Linked DNA regions of Homo sapiens: region 2 is linked to region 1. Evidence: promoter capture Hi-C in human tissues and cell types (Jung and others, 2019). All regions are on one chromosome and are shown on one strand. The core of a region is centred on a gene start or on the middle of the fragment in contact, and the rest is flanking DNA. Distances in the headings are between cores, read along the strand shown. Region 1 holds the start of NEUROD1 (neuronal differentiation 1). Region 2 has its middle 200 kb from the start of EPCART.

Region 1 (4,189 bases), core at 673-3,172:
ACAACGATTCACGCCACGCTTCGGTGGCACAACTCTTTTCTTCCCCTTTTAGATTAGTACTGTGCAGGGAAGGCTGCACCTGCTACCTTCAGACACCGGGGATCTGGCTAGGACCCTCTTCCTCTACCCCTACTCTCTCCTCCCGTCCCCACCCTCTCCCAGATGCACCCCAATCCAGCCTCTCAACCCTGTCGCTGTTTGCAAACTCGAGGGATGTTTAGTGCAATTGCCTTTAAATAAGCAATTCACGTAAGAGGTATTTATTGCAGAGGGTTTCAGGTCTGGGAGGGGGTAAGGAGTTAGTTAATGAAGGATTAGAGGCAAAGCTGGGAAAGAACGAGTAGACAGGCCAGTTTCTTTCTTTCTTTTTAAAATCTATTATTCTGGAAAACCCTTGTTCGAAAAGAGTAAAGAATTGCTATTTGGGCAACAATATGGCTCCTTCAGAACTGGTCGAGAATTTCTGTGGTCTTTGCTTGACCTTCAAGTTGGGAGTTTCAAATCAGAGGCTTTGAAGTCTGGAGGAGTTCGCAGCCATTAATCCTTCCGGGGTTGTGCTAAAGGCGTTTCTAGAAAGAGATCGGAAAGACCCGTTCAGCACAGGCCCATTGCATCTTCTCTTTGAAAACGCTTGTCTGAATCAAGTATCTTATACAGACCCGAGACTGAGGGGAGCAAGAGCGCAGGTCCGGCTGTGGCGAGGTGTCCACCACCGTACTTGTGGTCAATGCCTGGACTAGAGAGCCGAGGCCGTCCAGGGCGGGCTGGCCAGGGAACCAGAAGCGTCCCTGGACTGGCTGAGTGAGGGTGCCCTTTCCAGCAACCCAGTGGCCATGGTTAAAAGGCAGAATACAACCGTCAAAGAAGTCCCCAGCTCCCACATAAGAGAGCGCAAAGGCCAATGGAACCAAGGCCTCCTCGCGAGAACTAGCTCGCTTTGAGGACAAGATCCTGGGGATGGAGGTGGGGACTGACGTAGTGAGAGGGTCTGGAGGAACAGTCGTAGCTGAAGGTCAGGACATGAAGAATTGCACGTATGGTAGGGATAGAATGGCAGGTACAACTTTTCTGTACTGAAGGAACTGGGAGAGGACGATCCGGTTAGGGAGGTTGGGGAACTAATCTCAACGCTGCGTTTACAGATGAAGCCGCTTTTATATGGCGTATATGTTTGCTTAGAGGGGCCGACGGAGATTAGGAGAAGCCATCCTTTGGCGCCAATGATCAAAGCGTCTGCCAAGGAGAAGAAGCCAAGGGATGGGCCTTTCAGAGAGGGCAAGGAGTCATGCTGCTCTGGATGCCAGTGTCAGGACAAGAAATCGAAAGGAGCGAGGACTCTTCACTGCGTGCCTCAGTCTCCCCGCTTCTGCCTCTTTCACCTCTGTCCTACTTCCGGCGCGAAAGCAGGCCACTCGCTCTGATCTAGACCTAGTTAACATTAGCTTTTCCCTTCCTTCCCTCAAATCCCCTCCCCCCTCTATCCCCGTCCCTTCTGCCGCCTGAAAGGGTTAATCTCTCCTGCGGGTAAAAACAGGTCCGCGGAGTCTCTAACTGGCGACAGATGGGCCACTTTCTTCTGGCCACAAAGGGGCCGGAATGGAGCGCTCCGCGGCATACAAATGGGCAGGTCACGTGGTTCCAGGCTCTTGGCTGGACCGGGAAGACCATATGGCGCATGCCGGGGAGGAAGGAGGAGGGGCGGGGGTAGGGGTGGAGGGTGAGGGGAGCGGTTGTCGGAGGAGGGCGGGAGACGAGCAAGGCGTGGGGAGAAGTGGGGAGGAGGGGAGAACGGGGAGCGCACAGCCTGGACGCGTGCGCAGGCGTCAGGCGCATAGACCTGCTAGCCCCTCAGCTAGCGGCCCCGCCCGCGCTTAGCATCACTAACTGGGCTATATAACCTGAGCGCCCGCGCGGCCACGACACGAGGAATTCGCCCACGCAGGAGGCGCGGCGTCCGGAGGCCCCAGGGTTATGAGACTATCACTGCTCAGGACCTACTAACAACAAAGGTAATTACAGTTCTTTCATTTTTTTGCCCCAGAATAGAAGCAATAACTGAAGACTGATGAACCTACATATTCTGTATGTGTGCGTTTGCGAGAGTGTGTATGTGTATTGAGACCAGCATCCCCCTCCATAATTGCCCATAAGTACTCACACATAATGAGTCGTGTCACTCAAGTACCCCCTGCAGGCTTTCTAATTTAAATTTTAAAAATTTGGGTTTCTTTTGTGGATAGCATAGGAGCTTCTTGGATTTTTTAAAAGAATGCACGGTAACTATGATTATCTGCTAGTGCTGATTTTAAAGTCCCAAAAGCAATAATGACTTCACTTTCTCACTTCTTACAGTAAGAAAAAAAAATCTATGTTATCAATATATATTTTGTGTGCATGTATTTTACGCACATTGGGAGTGTCAAGCTGTGTTTTCAGTGAATGAAAGGGACATGGATACCTTGAGTATTCACACCATGGAAAATAAATCAGGTTCAGAGATAGTTTAGTTGAGAGGGGGGAAAGTGGAGAAAGGGAGAGGGACTCACTCCTGCTACCTGTTACCGCTCCAGAGGCGGCCAAGTCCCCAGCAGCCACTACTGGAGCCAGAAATTCAGTTGTTTTACTAAAGGCTTTTTATTTTCCTTACTAGAAGCGGCAACTTCGCGGTTGCCAATCGCTGACCATTATAATTACTCAATCTTTTAAAGGGAGGTTTGAGGCGAACTTTGAAAAGCCCCAATAAAGAGCGGGCGGCCCTTTCAATGGGCTGTTTATTAGAGAGGAGCCTTCCGCACCTGATCCCCGGCGCGTGGGAGAGCGCTCTGCGCCGCGCCCCCAGCCCTCGCCCTGCAGCTAGCGCTTTTGTACAAGGTGGAAATTTAGCGGTGGGCCAGAGATGGAAGGCAAGAAAAGAAAGGCGAGGGAGGGGTGGAAGACCCTGTCCACTTTTGTTGCCAAATGTTACATTGATGGTGAAACAATTTGGTGGAAACTATTTTTCCTCCTTTCTGCATTTGCTTTTCAGTATCCCGTCGATGTAATCTTCTTAAAAATCGCTGCCAGTATTAGTAAATTACGCAATGGCTGTTCAACTTAAATCGCTAAGTATCTGGAAGCCAGGACAGAAATGGAAGTAGAATGTGTGATTTTACAGCTTTTTTTTTTTTTTATGGAGTTGTGAGTAACTTTGAACACATTTGGATAAACATGAAGTCGCTGAAATGTACAGTCATTTCCACACACATTATCCTGTCGGGCAACCACCATAAACACATTTAAGTTAATCACTAGGATACAAACACATATGCGTGAGTGGTGTACACATATACATATTCACTACCCTCCCCCAGTCCTGTCCTCACTCCTACGTACTAGCGGGGCACACGCACGCGCCATTATAAAACACTGCATTTAACTTTTTCTCAGAGGCATTCATTTTGTAATGGGCAGGTACTTTTCGCAAGCATTTGTACAGGTTTAGGGAGTGGAAGCTGAAGGCGTATCTGGCTTTTGAATATAGCGTTTTTCTGCTTTTCTTTCTGTTTGCCTCTCCCTTGTTGAATGTAGGAAATCGAAACATGACCAAATCGTACAGCGAGAGTGGGCTGATGGGCGAGCCTCAGCCCCAAGGTCCTCCAAGCTGGACAGACGAGTGTCTCAGTTCTCAGGACGAGGAGCACGAGGCAGACAAGAAGGAGGACGACCTCGAAACCATGAACGCAGAGGAGGACTCACTGAGGAACGGGGGAGAGGAGGAGGACGAAGATGAGGACCTGGAAGAGGAGGAAGAAGAGGAAGAGGAGGATGACGATCAAAAGCCCAAGAGACGCGGCCCCAAAAAGAAGAAGATGACTAAGGCTCGCCTGGAGCGTTTTAAATTGAGACGCATGAAGGCTAACGCCCGGGAGCGGAACCGCATGCACGGACTGAACGCGGCGCTAGACAACCTGCGCAAGGTGGTGCCTTGCTATTCTAAGACGCAGAAGCTGTCCAAAATCGAGACTCTGCGCTTGGCCAAGAACTACATCTGGGCTCTGTCGGAGATCCTGCGCTCAGGCAAAAGCCCAGACCTGGTCTCCTTCGTTCAGACGCTTTGCAAGGGCTTATCCCAACCCACCACCAACCTGGTTGCGGGCTGCCTGCAACTCAATCCTCGGACTTTTCTGCCTGAGCAGAACCAGGACATGCC
Region 2 (4,189 bases), core at 502-3,001, 1.4 Mb after region 1:
CAGAAGTGAAAATGAGCATCAGGCACAACTGACTAATTTAATGGTCAGAACATATAATTGTTCAACACATGAACACAACCAGAGTTCAACATTGGGTGGGGTGCCTTCTGAAAATTCCACTGCAATGATGAAAGTGTAAAATTGCTAATTGTGTAATCCTTCACCACAGTTCTTGGGAAGCATTAGCATTACAAATTAGGGATAAACACTGTCTTTAATCTTTAACAGGCTGTCACATCAATCTAGGCTAGAGTAATAAAGGAGGTAAATTAAGGCAATATCTCCAGGTGTTGTGCTTGCCACCTCCCAAAATTTAAAGTGACTTCTCTGGATAATCTTCCTCAGGTTGAGCACTTAGCATAGGCTTGGAATTCACCCACCTGCCTCAAGCTTGCTGTCTATCTATGGATTTATCTGTCACCAAAATGGCTGCCAGCAACTTCCCACTAGAGCACGGAATGAGTGACTGAAAAAGGACTTCTGGGCAGCTTCCCATGAAATTTATTCTCTAAAACTTATCAAGATAATTACAAGAGAAAATGATAATTAGTGAGGAGGGGACTACTGGAAATCCTTTCAATAGTTTGTTTCCCATGAGAAAATTCTACAATAACAACAAAACAAATGGAAGTTTCTTTAAGTGTTTCTATGCTGTAAGAGGTGTTTTGCTTTGTTTTTTTAAAAAAATGCGTGCTTTATATATTGTTTGCCTTATTTTTTCTCTCTTTGTTTATTTACATGGGGTCCCAATTAGTGTAATATGTCCCAGTTAGTGTAAAGCATTGAGCAAGTACCATACCTGTGGGCCAGCCTTTTATAAACTGTAGATTATGGACAGTTCCTGAGGGTCCTATGAATTGCTCTGGAATAATGTTAGCTTGAAGTGGGAAAAGTTGTGACAAATTGAGTCAACACAGGCATATATTATTATAAGCTGTGGGACTATGATAAAATCAGCACTCTATTCACCTTTCAACCAAAAGTTTCATGTTAGCAAAGCAACATCATTTATCTTATATTTTTGTGTAAATTATATTATGCGCATAGTTCTTTAGAACTGACTAAGTTTACTTGGATTTTATGTTTTTATAAGGGCCATTAGCATGTGGGATTTCATTTATTTTATATTTAAGTACATTCAACTAATTTTATGTTAAAACCAAGCCAATACACAGAGTCCTAAAAGAATTTGGACAGGAGCTTCAAAAGAAGTACAAAGAAGTAAACTTTAAAACCAAGCCATATCAAATAATATAATTACTTTTTATGGCTATAAAAATAAATTCAGACCCAAGGACTAAGTCAAAGTAATTAATTAGTCATATAATTCTTAATATTTATGGATCTCATTATGAAAAACATCAGAAACTCTGAGGTTTTCTACAACTCTCTCTTATTTACTTCCAAAGTACAAAAATCCATGCAGCTGAAGTCTCAGAAAACAATCTTATATCTACTCTGTAGATAATAAAAAATAGCCTGTGAGTTTTGTCTTCTCAGATACTGGTCATAACAAATGAGTCATGTATTTCCTCTCTCTCCTGAGCATCAGAATTGTGATTCAAATAAACACAGATTTTAATCTCATACCTCTACCCAAATCCAAGAATTATGTTTAGTGTCCCAGAGGAAAGCACAAATTGTTGTATTTCTACTGGCCATAGAATTAACCCAGTTTGTCTACTTCTAAACATTTTCCTCTCTACTCCTTATTTTTACTTAATATTGGTTTTCTGTTTGTGAGTGTGTGTATGGCTGCTTTTCTTTCTATAGATAAAAATGCACCCTGCTATCTTCCAAATCAGTAAGTCATATTCTCTATCTTTCTACAACATGTTAAACAACACTTGTTAAATAAAACATATCCATTCGGGCAAATGTTTTCCAAAGAACAAGAAGAAAGAAAAGATTTATCTTCACTTCACTCATCTTTCCTCTTAACTCTCTAAGTTAGGCTTGCAGAAGAGAACTTGGTGTGAGTGTATAAGCTTCTTTAGCTCATGAACCATGTTCCAATTTGACAAGTACTACCTCAGTAAGGTCTTCATAATTTATTAAGTTTAGGAGAGATTTTTGGGCATCATAGTACTCTTAGTTGCAAAAAAAATGTCCAAGGAGATCTTAAGATTTAGACTCAATTTCTAGCAGGCAAGTAAACATATCATATAAGAGTTGGCTGTGTGATATAGTAAGACACATAGATGCAAGCTATGAAACTGAACATTTTAGTTAACATAGTGATAAAATGCTGTTGTTGTAGACATGGCAGGGAGAGGGAACCCTAGAGCCTACAGATATATTTACTTTGGCTGAAGCAATTTTTAAAGCAATTTAGATTTGAAAATCTTGACATAGGTCCCTCAAACCTCACTATTTCTATTTGTCTTACAGCAGGACAGCTTCCCTCATTTACATTACCTACACAATACCTGAAGGCATTTGCTTTGTAATCCCTAGAGAACCTTTAAAAATTCTCTCTGTCATAGTTTATGGGTCCTGTCAATAACTGAAATGGTTTCTATGCCTAACAATCCTCTTTACTATTTCAAATTGGTATAATATTCAACATGCACTAAGCCCTTAGGGGATTTTATGGGAAAGGTCAGCTGTAAGAGCCTATTATTGCTCATTATTATTAAGACTCCTTTGTTTCATTCAATCCCTTTATACAGTTGGGGAACACTTCTCAAGGGATGAGTTTATCTCTGTGTACTTTTGCAATAACAGTGGTACTCATTTGCAGTCTTTGCCTTCTTTTAATTCCTCCCTAGTCAAAGAAATCCTCTTTTGTGGTTAATGCTTTTAAATTATTACTTTAAAATCTATCCCTTGTGATATGTAATAGATTTATCTTAACCTGTTACCTATGAACTTGCAGTGACTGTCTACTAGATACTTAACCCTTAGTCTTATTTACATTTTTTCCTAAATTTGACTCTCACTACTGGACAGAAATTCCTGATCCAAAATATGGAAATTAACACAAAAGTGCTTTTAAAAATCATATAATCACAACCATATTTTTAAAAATTACCCTTAAAATTATTATACTCTATAATAAAGCATTTCTTCTCCCTTGCCAGGAGTCATATTTGTCATCATTTAATGTATATGGTTTTCTTTTTCTTTTAAGAAGATATTTTGTGCTGGTAACCCTGTGATGGTACAATTACAAAAAGCCACGGAAAAATGGCTGGCTTTTTCTCATTTCTCTTTAGTCTGCAGAAAGCTGTTAAGAGTGTTTTTCAAACCTTAACAATGTGAAAAATACGAAAACTACAAGATCACAATTTTAGTTGACCAATCAAAGAGTTGATAGGGCAAACAGTTGGCTGAATTACAAAGTGAGACAAGCTTCTCCAAAGAGAGAACATTCAGTCTGGCTCACTTGTGACAGAACATGGGAGGAAGGAGTGGTCACCATACAAGAGAGTTAGATGAAATCAACTCCAATATTTACAAATTTTGGACAATATGGGCTAATGTGTCTGCTGAGGGCTTCAGATTTAGTTGAGTTCTTGTTTTACTCACTAGCAAGCTTCCTCACCTTCCAACCTACCATGAACTTCTACTGGGATCTCATGAGAAAAAATATGGCAGAGCAGGAGTTCAAAGACAGAACGCTGCCGAGACCAGCTTGGTCGGAGAGACCCTAAACCAGCGGCGCTAGGGGAATTAAAGGCACACACACAGAAATATAGAGATGTGAAGTGGGAAATCAGGGGTCTCACAGCCTTCAGACCTGAGAGCCTCGAACAGAGATTTACCCACATATTTATTAACAGCAAGCCAGTCATTATCATTGTTTCTATAGATATTAACTAAAAGTATCCCTTATGGGAAACAAAGGCATTGGTCAAAATAAAGGGATGGGTTGGGCTAGTTAACTGCAGCAGGAGCATGTCCTTAAGGCACAGATTGCTCATGCTATTGTTTGTGGTTTAAGAACACCTTTAAGCCTTTTTCCACCCTGGGCGGCCCAGGTGTTCCTTGCCCTCATTCCCATAAACCCACAACCTTCCAGTGTGGGTGTTATGGCCATCATGAACATGTCACACTGCTGCAGAGATTTTTTTATGGCCAGTTTGGGGGCCAGTTTATGGCCAGATTTTGGGGATCCTGTTCCCAAAAGAACCCCTGGGTAGAACAGGCCTGGAGGTAATTAGCAGATGCTGGTTGGGGAGGAGGA

The links. The method cuts DNA at HindIII sites, captures the fragments that hold promoters and counts their contacts. A contact is called where the count stands out against the background at its distance.
Region 2: a contact is called between a fragment that was not itself captured here and the fragment with the promoter of NEUROD1 in region 1, in 1 of the 25 tissues and cell types used here (dorsolateral prefrontal cortex).

What each region holds. Positions count from the first base shown.
Region 1 is chr2:181,678,250-181,682,438 of GRCh38, reverse strand. It overlaps NEUROD1 (neuronal differentiation 1), which reads left to right and starts at 1,922. Exons shown (of 2, transcript NM_002500.5): 1 at 1,922-2,009; 2 at 3,568-4,189. The coding sequence starts at 3,579. RefSeq lists an enhancer at 696-1,272. The HindIII fragment of the contact is 10,799 bases long and covers 1-4,189 here.
Region 2 is chr2:180,320,316-180,324,504 of GRCh38, reverse strand. No RefSeq gene overlaps it. Among named protein-coding and RNA genes, the nearest start is that of EPCART, 200 kb to the right of the region's middle. The HindIII fragment of the contact is 4,485 bases long and covers 1-3,993 here.